Linked DNA regions of Homo sapiens: all the other regions are linked to region 1. The links are contacts of gene promoters, found by promoter capture Hi-C in blood cells and fetal thymus (Javierre and others, 2016). All regions are on one chromosome and are shown on one strand. Each heading gives the region's core, a stretch centred on a gene start or on the middle of the fragment in contact. The rest is flanking DNA. Distances are from core to core; before and after follow the strand shown. Region 1 holds the start of SLC6A3 (solute carrier family 6 member 3). Region 2 holds the start of SLC12A7 (solute carrier family 12 member 7). Region 3 has its middle 24 kb from the start of TERLR1.

Evidence for each region. The method cuts DNA at HindIII sites, captures the fragments that hold promoters and counts their contacts. A CHiCAGO score of 5 or more calls a contact.
Region 2: a contact is called between the fragment with the promoter of SLC12A7 here and the fragment with the promoter of SLC6A3 in region 1, in 1 of 17 cell types (monocytes). The highest score is 5.6, in monocytes.
Region 3: a contact is called between a fragment that was not itself captured here and the fragment with the promoter of SLC6A3 in region 1, in 5 of 17 cell types (non-activated CD4 T cells, naive CD4 T cells, activated CD4 T cells and 2 more). The highest score is 7.1, in non-activated CD4 T cells.

Annotation. Positions count from the first base shown.
Region 1 is chr5:1,443,298-1,448,016 of GRCh38, reverse strand. It overlaps SLC6A3 (solute carrier family 6 member 3), which reads left to right and starts at 2,577. Exons shown (of 15, transcript NM_001044.5): 1 at 2,577-2,669. RefSeq lists an enhancer at 1,440-1,939. The HindIII fragment of the contact is 13,596 bases long and covers 1-4,719 here.
Region 2 is chr5:1,110,395-1,115,113 of GRCh38, reverse strand. It overlaps SLC12A7 (solute carrier family 12 member 7), which reads left to right and starts at 3,051. Exons shown (of 24, transcript NM_006598.3): 1 at 3,051-3,246. The coding sequence starts at 3,123. The HindIII fragment of the contact is 43,087 bases long and covers 1-4,719 here.
Region 3 is chr5:1,152,350-1,157,068 of GRCh38, reverse strand. It overlaps a transcript of SLC12A7 not described here. Among named protein-coding and RNA genes, the nearest start is that of TERLR1, 24 kb to the left of the region's middle. RefSeq lists an enhancer at 4,230-4,719. The HindIII fragment of the contact is 8,944 bases long and covers 1-4,719 here.

The DNA.
Region 1 (4,719 bases), core at 1,328-3,827:
TTAGGGCAAAGTTCCAAGCATGCAAAGGTCGGCCGTTTGATCAGGTCTGATCAGCTCATAACCACACTGCTTCTACCTGCACAGTTCACGGAGCATTCCTGTTGTGGGAGGATGGAGACCCATGGGTCTGGCAGCTGCGCTTTCTCTGTGTCATCCATGAGCCCAACTCCCGCAGTTAGTTTGTTCTTAGAGCACCCAAAGCTCCTTTATCCTAATTCATGTGGTTGGAAGTCGGGGTTGAGGCAGGGGTGGAGGAATGCTCTTTGTCTTGGCAGAGTGCAGGTTACATGCGTGTGATCACTCAGTGGCCCCTCCTGAGTGTGGCAGGTGCATTCTCTGTGTGCTACTGGTCAGTAAGGATGTGGCTGCCTGGATCTGTGTGACCTCTAGTCCCTGCACCTTCCTGCCTGTACCCTGTTAGCTTTGGGTCACAATTCTGCGCTCCTGCAGCGCTTGCAATCCCTTCCCAAACGCTGTTTGCCTGTGTGTTGTTTTGTTTCGAGACAGGGTCTCATCCTGTGGCCCATGGCGCAATCTCAGCTCACTACAACCTCCACCTCCCAGCTTCAAGCTATTCTCCCACCTCTGCCTCCCCAGTAGCTGGGACTACAGGTGTGGGCCACCATGCCTGGCTAATTTTTTTTTTCAAAGTCAGGGTTTTGCCATGTGGCCCAGGCTGGTCTCAAACTCCTGGCCTCAAGAGATCCTCCTTCCTCGGCCTCCCAGAGTGCTGGGATTACAAGCGTGAGCCCTCACTCCTGGCCTGTGTATTTTTAATATACCTGAACATCCATTCTCTCTGTGTGTTTTATTTAACAGCCTCCCTTAGTCACCTGCAAAGTCTTTTCCTTGGGAGACTGTTTCCTCAACCCTGCTGCTCTGGGGCCAAGCCCTGGCTCACTCCTTTTTATTGAAACCTGTGCCATGGAGATAATAGGGGTAGAGAGATCCCTTCTGTGGCAGCCACTGACACACTACAGCTTCGAGGTGGCACATCCCCCTCTCCTGAAGTCCCCTCACCTCCCTGGCGATGAAGTCCCACCCCTGATGGGAGGTGGTGTCAGGAGGCCTTCAGGTGGTCAGGCCAGGAGGGCTCCACCCTGAGGAATGGGACCAGTGCCCTCATAAAACAGACCCCGGAGAGCTCTCCCCAGCCCCTAGCGTGGGGAGATACAGGGAGAGAACTGTCTGCAACCCCGAAGCGGCCCTCACCAGACACAGAGTCGGCCAGGCCTTGGCCTCGGGACACCGGAACCGTTAGAACTGAAGGCTTCTGTGTGAGCCCCCAGGCTGTGGAGTTTTTTGTCATGGCAGCCCCAGGGGGTCACTAGGCTCCCACTTGATTCCAACTCAGCGTGAAGTCACAGCCCTGAGTGCCTTCTGCCTGGGTGCCAGCCCCGGAGCCGGGGAGCGGGGGAGCGGGGGGCGGGGAGGGGAGTGGTGGTGTGCGGGGAGTGCGGGGCGGGCGCAGGGGGTGGGGCACCGCGCTGCGGGCGGGTACTGCGGAGTCAGGCACCAAGGGTCCCTGCCTCCCTCACTGCTGAGCGCGGGCTGCAGGCTGGAATGGCTGGAGAGCCCCAGGGCTCGCCTGGACGCCCAGGGCAGGGTGCTCACGGGAGCATCGAGGGTACACGGGGAGGAACGCCGGGGTTCGGGCGACCCTAGGGGCGACGCACAGAGCTGGGCGCGGCCACTCACCTCGGTGCCTTCTAAGGACCTGGACATCCTGGGCCTTGGCGGCCTGGGGGCTCCATTCCTCCGCGCGCTGAATGGAAGAAATCCCGCCCGGGCATCTCGGAAGGAAAGCCTCGGAGTCCATTCGGCCCTGGAGCCGGATACCAACCGCCAGGGCTTTCCAGGCCCGTCCCGGGAAATGGTTTTCTTAGGCGAGTGCGAGGCGGGCCCCTCGGTTCCGATGCAGGCGCACTAGATGCCGGCAAGGCGGGGACTAGGCCTAGGGGACCTCGGTCGCCTCGAGGTCGCGGAGACCCCAAGGCCACGGAAGGACCCGCGTCTCCGCAGCCCGCACGCCGGGAAGCGTGCAGAGTCCTCGGCGGGGTCCCGAGCCCGCTGGTCAGAGCGTGGAGCGGCGGGGTGGGAGGGACGTGGTCCCCAGAGCGCGGGGCCACCGTAGGGGCCCCTGATGGGGAGGGAGGGAAGGGTCGGCCCGACGGGGTCCCAGCAGTTCCCCGCGCGCAGCCGCTCGGCTCCCTCCCCGTCCAGCTGGGAGCCGCCAGCCCTGGGCGTCCGAAGATAGCGGGTGCCCGGGGCAGCCCCCAGGGGTGCGGGCGAGGGCGCAGGGCGGCCCAGACAGTTCCCGCGTGGAAGGCGCCCGTCTAGATCCGCGACGTCTCGGACCCCCAGGCCCCCGCACCCCGTGTCCGAGGCTCCGGGACGCGCAGGACAGTGGAGCCGTGGCCGCCGCTTGCTCCCAGCCATCTGCGTCCGGGAGGCGGGGGCGGGGGCGCGGCCCGGGGAGGTGAGGAGGAGGAGCCAGGACGCGAGGGCGACCCCGTCGGCGGGAGGGCGGGGCGGGGCGGACCCTGTCTACTGGATAAGAGCCCGAGGCCGAGGCTGAGACCGCCCAGCGCTGCGGAGCGGGAGGGGAGGCTTCGCGGAACGCTCTCGGCGCCAGGACTCGCGTGCAAAGCCCAGGCCCGGGCGGCCAGGTGAGGCCAGCGTCGCTCGCGGCATCGGGGCGCCCCGCTCCTTCCGCAGACCCCGAAGTGGGGCGCAGGGGCGGGGGCCGGGGACCGGGCACAGTCTGGGGTCCCCGCGTCCCGCAGACCGCGCCGTCTCCAAAGTCGCCAACAGTCGCGGGTGCCGAGCGCCCCCCGATAGCGCCACATGGGACCCTGAGGCCGTCCGAGGCGCGAGGAGGGTGCAGGGCTGCCCCTGGCCCCGCTCCAGGCTCAGAACCGGGTGGGCACCTGGTGCAGTCACCGGCTTAGGGGACGCGTGGGTGTCTATGGCTGTGACTCGGGGGTCCTGGTTTCTTCTCGTGGAACTTAACCCTACTAGGGGTGCGGCGCATCCCAGATCCGATCGGAGTGGGTTTTGTACACCGCCGCTCCATCTCGCGGGGGCTTTGTCTGTGTTGGGGGTGGTGGCGGGCGCGGGCTGCGCGCTGGTGCTCTGGGCAGGGCGGGGAGGCCGGGCGAGGACTCGCCAGGCAGCGCCGCTTCTTGTTCTGGGCGCGGTGAGGAAGGACGCTTTCTAACGGGCCACATTTTGCTGTGTAGACCCAAAACTCGCCTCTGAGGCCCCGCGTTCAGGAGCGGGGTCAGGTGGCCCCAGGGCGGCGGCGGCTTGCCGGAGACTCGCGAGCTCCGCACCCGACGCCCTCTCCCAACGCGGCCTCCTGCTCGCGCCGCGGAACCCCTTCGTCGGGTGTTTTACCCACCGGAGGGGTCGTGCCGGTTGAGGTTGTCACCGGGTGCGTGGCATAGCTCGTGATAGCTCATGGGTGAGGTTTTGTGCAAACTTGGATGCAGGGAAAGTTGCCTGTTAGAGCCTCCACCTGCGACCTGCTTCAGTCGTTGTGTGTGTGTGCGCACCTGTGTGAGTGTGAGTGTGTATGTGTGTAAGTGTATGTGCTCGCCTGTGTGTGTGTGAGTGTGTATGTGTGTTTGTGAGTCTGTGTGTGTCTGTGTGTCTGTGTGTGCGTGCGCTCGACTGAAACACGCTGCTGCTGGATCCAAATGACAGAAGTCGCCCTGGCTGGGGCGGTGTAGACGCTCCTGCTCTCCTGCTCAGCGTTGCAGGGGGGTTTATGTAGCCGTTTGGACAGGATTTCCCGGGTTACCCTGCTGGCCCAGGAGCTAGTTCCCGCGATGAAGCCCTGTCCATCCTCCGCCCAGCTCTCTCACGCGGGGTGGTGCCACCTGCCCTAGGTGGATGTGGCTTGTACAGACACTTTTTGAGGAAGCAGTTGTGATGGTTATGTCTAAACTCTCTTTACAGTGGCTGATTTTGCTTATATAAATTTTGCTCTTTATTACTGAGTATAAACAATACAAGCCCAGGCTTGGTGGCTCATGCCTGTCATCTCAGCACTTTGGGAGGCTGAGGCAGGAGGATCGCTTGAGACCAGGAGTTCAAAACCAGCCTTGGCAACAATAGTCAGACCCTGTCTCTACAAAAAAACAACAACAACAACAAAAAAACACACACAAAAATAACTTAGCCGGTGCTGTGGTGCACACCTGTAGTCTCAGCTGCTCAGGAGGCTGAGGTGCAAGGATCACTTGAACCTAGGAGGTTGAGGCAGTGAGTTGTAATCACAACTGTATTCCATCCTGGGTGACAGAGCGAGACCTCATGTTAAAAAAGAAAAAAAAAAGAAAAAAGAATACAGATGAACAGTCATGAAGACATTATTGAATGCTCTTAGAAGATTGTAAAATTGCTCTCTGGAAGTGTGGGGGAAGGTGGAAGTGATATCCATGCATTGTTAGTAGAAAGCCACGCTAGAGCTCACACAGCCTTGCACTTTGATAGGAGTGGGGAGGGGTGCAGGGGAAGGAGGAGCAAACCAGAGTGTCTGTCTTGAGGCCTCCATGGGCCAGTGCCCCAGCCCTGTGGTGAGGGCTGGCACTTCCCAGCTCCCGTGCCCCAGCTGTACCATCTCAGGCGCTGAGAACGCACCCATCCCTTCCCAGAGGAATGCCCGTGAATGCCTCGGGGCTCTGCCCTCCGCACCAGGTATGTCCCTAGCCC
Region 2 (4,719 bases), core at 1,802-4,301, 330 kb after region 1:
AGCTGGACACCGATGCTTGGAAAGGGCACTAATGGTGATCGACTGAGACCCACCAATGTGTTTCATCAGCGATGTACAAATATACTTGGGAGATTGTCGGGAACCAATTCACCGTTGTGGAAACTGACAAATGAGGGAGAGGCACCCTTGCCCTGCCTTTCCTGTGGGCACCATTATCCAGATGGCCAGACGGACAAGATGAGCCTCTCCCTCCAGTGAATTCATGACGAAGCCACCACGCACTGGAAAATCACCATTTTGCTCCATGAATCTGTCGATTCAGACATCAAGCACCAACGACTGCGGACGGAGGAGCTACCACCAGACAGTGCGTGGCTCCCTCTGCGAGCCCCCGGCCTTGCCAGGGGACTGGACCCGGATCCCAGCAGTCCCCTGGCTCCAGGTGCCCACTTCCAGGAGACGCAGAGGCCTGCACCGAAAGATGCAGCTCCAACCCAGGCCTCGGGTACCTCCACGTGTCCGAGGGCCACTTCCTACAACAGGTGCCGGGTACAGAAAAGGACAGAGGGATGGAGGTGGGTAGGAAGAGAGCACTGAAAGTCACACAACGCACATTTAACCCCAGGCTGCCGTGTGGGAGGATATACGTGGACACGGAAACCCACAGAGCGAAGGGAGGGGCCACCAGACCCCTAGGGATGGGCTACTGATGGGATGGGAGGGGCCTGCAGCGGCTTCTGGGCTCCGGCAAGGGTCTCTGTCTTGACCCGCAGGTGCTTACAGGGTGCTGATCCCTGTCGTGACTCACCTGATTAGAATGCAAAAGGCAGCAGACCTCACCCCCCACCCGAGGTCTCCCACAAGTAAGATCTAAGATTTAAACAAGAGAAGCCACCTGCCTTCTGCCTGGCAGGGCTGGGCACCCACCCAGGTGCTTCAGCCATGGCCCCTGGTCCTAGTCAAGATTTTGTAATCACAGAGAAGACCACCCTCGGAGCTGCCACAGGACCCTAAACTCCTGGGCCTCAGTTTCCTCCTCTGTAAAATGAAGCTGATGAGTCCTGAGTCCGGGAGCTGGCCCTGGCCACAGACCCTCCAAACCAGCTCCTCTGAAGGTCCACAGCCAGCACATGGCGGGCAGCCGGCCCTGGGGTCCTGGGGTGTGAAGCAGAGCTTGGATGTGCGACGGGAGCCCTGCACATCTGTTGCTCCTGCTGGCATCACTTGGGAAGGCCTCGTGCCCACCCTGAGCTCTGTCCAACCCTCGGGAATAGCGCTGGGTGGCAACCAGGGTTGAATGTACAGAAGCCCCTGCTGGGGTGACTGAGGAGAGGGTTTACCCAGCACCCTAAGTGTGAACCCTATAATTGACCCCATTGGGCACTTCTGTTCCCACCCCCTGGATCTTTTTAGCAAAGCCAGCCCTCCTCATAAGGATGCCTGGGAACTATTTTATCTTCTGGGGAGGTGATGGTTTCCTACCTTCCAACCCACTGACCCAGGGAGGCAGCTGACCTAGCACCATCCACAGCCCTGAGCTCCCTTTGGTGGGAGGTGGGGTGAGAGTGTGGAGCAGGCACAGCTCCAGACACCCAGGCCAGAGGAACCCCCACCTCTGCAAGGGCTGGTGCTGGATGGGCGACGTTCCAGGAGGGTCCCAGGCCTACAGCTTCTGCCCAGAAGAGTCCATGGGGCAAAGGGGTAGAACCCTAGGCCACCCCAGGGCATGACTGGCTTTACTGGAAATGGCTGGAGAGGTTGGGCTTGCGTTCCTTGAACCCACAGAGCCCGGTGATCCCACAGCCCGGAGGCCATCACTCCCCTCCAGCTGCCTTTTAGGATTAGACAGGCAAGCGGCTAAAACATGGCCAGGCCATACCCATTTTCCACGTGACAAGAGGCTGTGGCCGTGTTTGCCCACACCACCTGTGTTTCTGCTTTGTTGTCGTACAGCAGTTGTGGGTGATTAGGAATAAAGGCTGACTCATTGCACCTGTGTGCCATAGCATTTTAGCCCAATTCCCCATTGACGGACATCTGATTGTTCCGTTTTTCATGAGTCATTTGTTGAGAAATGTGCCAGGTGCTGGCCGGTGGTATCCTGGTGTCTGCCTGGTGGGTTCTGGAACTCCACCTTCCCTGCATCACCCTGTGAGCTTCTGGAACATTTCCCAAGGAGGGAAGGGAGGGTTCTAGGGCAGGGGCCGCGGGGCACTCCTGGGGCAGGTGTGGAGGAGACTGGGGTCTTCGTGGGTGGTATTTGTCATGGGTGGGGGGGGGGACTCCCTCTACTGGGTTAGGTCCCTAAACTGGAGCTGGACCAAGCTCCGGAGTACCCCACCCCCAGGCTATCCAAGGCTCCTTCCACTGGAGTTGCCTTTGCAGCCAGGTTGGGCTAGCCAGGAGCCAGGCTAGGAGCCCAGGGTCTGAGCGGGTGTTGACAGCCTGGAGTGGGTGGGCGGACTGTGTGGGAGGTGGGTGCTGGAGGATGGCAGGGGGGAACAGGAGGGGGAAGAAGGAGGGGTAGGGGGCTGGAGCAGGAAATGGGGGGCAAACAGGAGGGGGTGCGGGAGGGGGCGCAGAAGGAGGAGGGGCCCAGCAGGAGGGGGTGCAGAAAGGGCAGGGGTTCCAGCAGGAGGGGGTTCATAGGGGCAGGGGGGCCCAGCAGGAGGGGGTGCAGGAAGGGTGGGGGGGTGCAGGAGGGGTGAGGGGTTCCAGCAGAAGGGCGTGCAGGAGGGGCAGGGGGCTGGAGCAGGAGTGGGGGGTCGGGGAAGGGGACAAGAGGGGAGGCGGGGAGGGGGCCGGGGAGGGCGGGGAGGGCGGGGAGTTCCAGCAGGAGGGGCAGGGGGCTGGAGCAGGAGGGGGTGCAGGAGACTGAGCGGGGATTCGCGGGCTCTGCGATGGTCGGGAGCGCAGGCAGCGAAAGCCCCGCGTCCCGGGTCGCGGCGGTCAGACAGACGCAGCCTGGGTTGGGGTCCCTGCAGGAAGTCGCCGCGGGCCAACTTTTCGTGGGGCCGCGGGGCAAGCAGGTGAAGTCACGTGGCCCGGGCGGGGCGGGGCGGCTCGGTCGGACCCCGCCCCTGCCTCCAAGTCCCGTGGCGTCGGCGGGAGCGGCGCAGCGCGGGCCGGGCCGGGACGGGGACTGTCGGCTGCAGGCGGCCATGCCCACCAACTTCACCGTGGTGCCCGTGGAGGCTCACGCCGACGGCGGCGGGGACGAGACTGCCGAGCGGACGGAGGCTCCGGGCACCCCCGAGGGCCCCGAGCCCGAGCGCCCCAGCCCGGGTGAGCGCGGCCGCACCTGGCCGGACAAAGGCCGAGCGCCCCGAGCGCGGGTCTGGGCCCGGCATCCGGGAGCGGAGGCGGGCGGCGGGGCCGGGGGTACAGGAGGCGCCCCTTCCCGCGCCCCCACCGCCTGTTCTCGGTCCCCCACGAGGGCCCCCACCCCACGTTAGTGGCAGCGCTAGGGGGCGAGGGGCCCTGCCAGGGCTCCCGGTACGGTCAGCTCGGGTGGGACCGGGGGCAGAGGTGTGGACGCCGCTGCTGGTAGCCATGGAAACGGGGAGGGGCTGGAGCGCGCCTCCGGAGGGAGCCCGGGCCCCTGGGTGGTCCCTAGTGGGACAGGGGTGGCGGTGGAGACCCGGGCGGTTCGGGAGCCGGGGCGTCCTGCGTCCCCCGCGCTCTCCCTTCCCCTGCGCCGCGGCCGTCCGGTAACACTAGCCCGGGCCGGCCCGTCCTGCCCCCGCCTGACCCTGGAGGAGCCGCCCACCCCCCAGAGGCGGAACAGGAAGGACTGCGCCCTGGCTGGGGAGGGGGCAGCCACCGGGGCCTTGCTCAGGCCGCGTCCTCCGTGTTCCCGTCCCCCGTTCCGGGAATCTGGAGGTTTCTAGCACTTTCACTTTCTCTAGGGGGTGGGGACGGGGCTGGGGAGAGAATCCCCCAGCCCTGTTCCCTCCATCCTGGCTCCAAATCCCAGTTACTCCCCGGATCTCAGCCCCCTCTAGAAACCGGAGGCTCTTAGGCCCTTCCATCCGGAGTCTCTGAGAAGGTGTCCGGACTCAGTCCAGCCCCCACCCCGCGTGCTGGCAGTGCCCGCATGTGCCCGGGTCTCATGCAGTGGGTGGCAGCCTCCCTGCTCCCTGGCAGTGGAAGGAAGGTGAGGTCTGTCCAGGGACAAGTCCGGTGCCAGACCCCAGATCCTTCCTAACCCACCATCCCGGGCAGGAAAGGCCAGACATCCCCTCCAGGCAGTTTAGGAACCCGGAGACACGGGTGGGGACCCACCGTGAAGGCAGTGGCCTGGTGGCCTGGGGTGCGTCATCAGGGTCCCCGTGGCGGGCGAAGAGTGGTCTCAGCTTCCTCTGCACAGAGGCCAGCCCAGATCTTGGAAGTGGTCAGGCGGGGCGCCAGGCTCAACACCAGGTGAAGTGCTAACTAAGCAGGGTCCGTGAGTCCAAGCCCCTTCTCTCCAGTCACCACCGTGGAGGCAGGAAGCACCAAGGAGTGTGGGCCCTGGCGTGGTCTTTCTGTGTGAGCTTTGTAGCAACGCCCCCGGAACGCACTCAGAAGGAGCCTCTTCTTGTCTGGCCGGCCCCTTCTCAAGGCTGATCAGGTTCACTTTTGTCTTTAGACTGTAAGTGTCATTTGCTTTTAAGCCAGAGAGAATTTTGTGCTTGTTCGTTTTCTTGTCTCTTCTACTCTCAAGGCTGTTGAGCAGTGCCCTGGGCCTGTGTCTGCCCAGCAGGAAGTGGCCCTGGC
Region 3 (4,719 bases), core at 644-3,143, 290 kb after region 1:
TGTGGCCACAGGACTAAGTTCTGGCTAACAGGATAAGCGAAGGTGCTATGTGCACTCCTAGGCTTCCTAGGCTGTGCTCTGCGAAGGAGTGGCTAGCTACCTTTCCCGTTTCCTCACTCTACTGCTGGGATTCAGATGTGATGGCTGGACCAGCAGCAGCCACCGTGGACGACGAGGGCAGAGTATGACTGGAGGCAGCACAGCTGACCACTTGCTCCCTGTAAGTCACTGTCTAGATGTCACCTGAGGCCCTCCCCACACCTCAGAGCTCTTACCCTTGCCTCCCTCTAGAACCTACACTTCACGGAGGCAGGGGTTCCCTTCTGTCACCTGCAGGGCCCGGCACAGGTTAGCATTCATAAATATTTATTGAATCTGTGAATACATATTGTAAAGTGCTCAATACTTCCACGCAAGGTGGTGGCAACAGCATCATTAGAGGGGAGGAAAGAGCCAGTTGCAGAATTTGTGCAGCTGCGGTGGTTGCAGGAACCCCTGAAGAGCAGGCGGGGTCTCCCAAGACTTCTAGGGTCCGCGGCTCCCAGCGCCTCCGCAGCCAGGCTGGCCTCCGCCTTCCACCCTGGCTGCCCCGGAGGCCTTTCTCCCCAGGTGGAAGTCCCAGGAGGAGGCCTCTGCCTCGCACGCAGGCACGGCTGAACCCTGCTTGGCCAAGGGCTGGAGTCTGGGGATGGGGGAGGTGGAGGCCCCAGATCAGGGCGCCCCTCCCCACGGACCCAAAGGCCAGCGAGACCTCCACCCTCACCGGCCCCCTGGTCCCGGCCCTCGGTGGGCGTCGCCAGAGACCGCGGGCTGCAGCGTTGCTGCCAGGGTTGGTCGTCGTCGGTTCCAGGCGGCGCAGAGCGAGGTCTGTTCCTCCCCTCAGGCTTCTGCACCGCGCGCTGACCCGGTCGCCCGGCTGGGGCGTCTCCAAGGTCACGCAGCGAGAGCCGAGGCCGCTCTTCGTTCTTCGGGGGCCGAGGCCGTGGTCCCCCCGCGGGCAGGGACCGCTGCCGAGGTGTCAGCCGGAGTCCGCCTCGCCCTCCCGGCCCCTCCCCGCGCCGCGCGGCCCCATCCCCGGCGGTGCGCTCGGTCCCTCTCTCCCCCCCGGCCTCCCTCCCTTCCTCCCGGCCTCCCGCGCCCGCCCCGCCGGCCCCGCCCTCCCCGCGCTCAGGTCCCCGCTCCCCGCAGCCGTCGCGGACACCATGTCCCAGCGCTTCGTGGTGACCCCCGCGGCGGGGGGTGCGGGGCCCGGGGCCAAGGAAGGCGACAGCCAGCGCCCCACCCCGAGCCCCCGCCGGGCCCCCGACCCCGGCCTGGACCCCGCAGCCGCGCCCGAGCCGCCTGACGAGGACCCGCTTCCCATTCTGCTCTACTGCCGCGAGCCCGGCCGCTACGGTAGGTGCGCGCAGGTGCCGGTCCCCTCGAGGGGCGCAGGTGGGCGGCGGCGGCCTGGCGGGCCGGCGGGGGTGGGGCTCCCGGTCAGCCCGGGGGTCGGTCCCTGCCTGGGGTCCCCCCAGCCCAGCGGAGCCCCGCCCCTGCCGCCCGCCGCGCGCTCCGGGGACCTGGGGCAGTTCCCTGCGGGGATCCCGCCCTGTCCGGGGCCTGCAGGTGACACCGAGCCGGGGCAGGGGCCGCGGGGATGGGCCGACAGCTCCCGGGGCGCCCTCTGACCTCGCTGTTCCCGCGGCTGCAGAGTCCAGACGGGGTCACTTCGCGGGGAGGGCGGGGACCAGGCAGAAAAGGGGCCCTGTTCTCGTCCAGGGCTGCCTCTCTCGGGACCACGGCGGGTCCCTGAGGCCTTGGGCGGGGCTGTGATCTGATGATTTATAGCGCGGGAGGGTGGCAGGGGTCTGGCCCGGCAGATCTGGGAAGCAGTGGGGGTTCGTCCCTGCGGGGAGCAGAACCGTGTCCTCCTGACCACTCGCTGCTCACACGGGGGTCCCGAAGCCTGAGGTGGGCGAGGGGCCTGGGAGGGCGGGGCGGGGGCGGGGGGAGGCAGAGGACCCAGAGCCAAGCCCGCTTCCAGTGGGCTGAGGAGGGCCCTGCCTGGGACCATGGAGTGCCCCCCGCCAGCCTTGGCCACACAGAGGCCACCAGGCCTGGACCCTGGCTTGGGCTTAAAGCTCGTGGGCCCCGAGGACAGATGTCCCTGAGCTGTCACTCTCTCGTGGGACCTGGGTGCCCCGAGGGTCCATCTGCTGTTCCCGCCTGGCATGGCCAGGGTAGGCTGCTCTGAAGACCTGCGGTTACTGCGATGTCTTGCCCTGTGAGGGGCCGGGGATGAGGCAGGTCCCAGGCAGAAGGGCTCCGACGGGCCCTGGGGGACCCAGCTCACGTGTGTGGGGGCCGTGCGTGTCCGTTTCGCCTGTTCATGTATGTCACACATGTGAGAGTCCACAGCGAGGGCAGCCTTTACACGCGATGGCCCAGAGGAGCGAGCATCTCAGGCTCCTCAGCACGTCTCTGTGCTGACCTCCTGCAGCACTGCCGGGAGCCATGTGAGTGTCCACGCCTGTGTGTGTCCGTGTGTGTGTCTATGTGTGTGCTGTGTGGTATGTGTATATGTCTATAGTGTGATGTGTGTATATGTGTGTGTATGGCATATGAGGTGTGTGTGTCTATATTATGTGTAGTGTGTGTCTGTGTCTAGATGTGTGTGGTGCATTGTATGTGTCTCTGTGTGTGTGTGTGTGTGTGTGTGTGTGTGTGTGTGTTGCGGACACCAGTTGTCCAGGACTGCATGGATTGGTACAGGGGTGTGGTGGGAGCTGTGGTCTGTGTCTCAGTTGGATTCGGCTCAGTGCCCTAGATAGGTTGTGGACACACACGCTTTGGAGACAAGGTTAGGGTTAGGGTTGGGATTAGGGGTTAGGGGTTAGGGTTAGGGTTAGGGACACAAGCCTGTGGAGATGAGGTGGACGGGACACTTGTTCCTGTGGGTTAGGGTTAGCGTCAGGAACACATGCGTGTGGAGATGAAAAGGATGGGACACTTGTTATTCTCGGTTAGGGTTAGGGTTGGGAACACATGCGTGTGGAGATGAGATGGACGAGACACCTGCCCTTCTAGGTGGCAGCTGTGGCTCTCGGGTCCAGCCCTGTCCTTCTCCTGAGCCTGGAGTCATTTCTTGGACTCCAGGGTCATGCCCTGCAATGTCTGATACAGGATGCTGTGGTCTCCTCCCTAAAGGAAGACCCTGTCTTCAAACAGCTGCTGTGTGGCACTCCCCAGATGCACACAAAGTTTTCTCTCTAGTTCTGAAGTCAGCCTGCTCACCAGGGTGCACGTTCCTCTTGATTTTCTCTGTGGAGGCCAACAAAGGAGCTGGTGATTCTGCAGGTCGCCGGTTAGTGTGAACTAGAGCGCCAAGTCAGGGCTGCAGGGTTCTCGGGCGTCCTCAGGCCTTGTTTGTTCCGGGGGAAATGGTTTGACAACACGGCTTGTGGCAACAGGGGCTTCCCCATGGGCTGTTCCTTGGCTCTGTAGTGCCAGGGCCAGCACCCCAGGCATGGACAGGGTCCTGAGTCGGGCCGACCCTACTGGTCTCCTCCACGCCTCATTCTCCTTTCTAGGGAGCCTTGGCCTCTCCTCCGGGTGCCCAGCACACTGGCCCATGGACCCCCCCAGAGGCCCCTGAGGAAAGCGTGTGGGGGCAGGTGAAGGTCTGAACTCATCTGTCCTTCCTGCTTCAGGCTGTGAATGTTTGCACATTCATGTGGGCATGGAGGGAGGTGTTGCCTTAATCCTGGATGGAGCAGGTGGGAGACCCCGTTCAGGCCTAGCATTCCCCCACCCACCTCATCTCCTCTTTGGGGTGGGTGCTTGGAGGCTGGGCTGGACCGCCCAGGGACTGGGCAAGCCCGTCCCTCCTCCCACGTCAGCACCCGGGGGTAGAGACCCTGTGCCCACGGCCATGCGGCTGCCTGGCTGCCGTGGACAGCTGGGCTCCAGTCCTGTGGGGGTTGGAGGAGGATGGCTCCAGCCAACCATCAGCTGAATGATTTTGTGTCGTGCCCGCTACATATGAACAGAAGACCTATTATTTAACAGTGCCATTAAGACAATGTAAACCAAGTTTAAAAAAGCAAACAAACATTTTATTGGCATGCGTTGGGCGCCACAGGAATTGCATGCCAGGCGGGCCATTTGTCCTGGGCTGACCTTCCCTTGCAGATGTGTGGCCTGGTGATCAGATGAACTTTCTAATCCTCCAGAGACAGCTCCTCTCTGCTCACAGGCCCCAGGGATAAGTCAGTAATCCCCGCAGGCCTCCCCCGTGTCGGTCATCCCTCAGTTTTCAATGCAGGAATCCACACCGACTTTGTACTCAGTTGACTTTGCTGAGAATGGCTGGGGTGTGTCGGTGCTGAGGCAGTGCATGGTCCGGGGGGCGTCTCCGTTCTGTAAGGGAGTCGCCCTTCTCTAGCTTGGGGGTCTCCGTTCTCTAGCTTGGGGGTCTCCCTTCTCTAGCTTGGGGGACTCCCTTCTCTAGCTTGGGGGATCTCCCTTACCAGGGAGGTCTCCCTTCTCTAGGGGATGGGTCCCTTCTCTCTGCCACAGGATGTAAACATGCCATTGGGACTCTCGCCCTGTGCCAGCATCCCCCTCGGTCCTGCTGGGTGAGCCCACGGGCACAGGCAGGTCTGACAGGGGCTTTCCGGCTATGTTTTTGCATCAAGGAGGGTGGTGCCACTTCCTGCTCAGCAGGGAGCAGCCTGT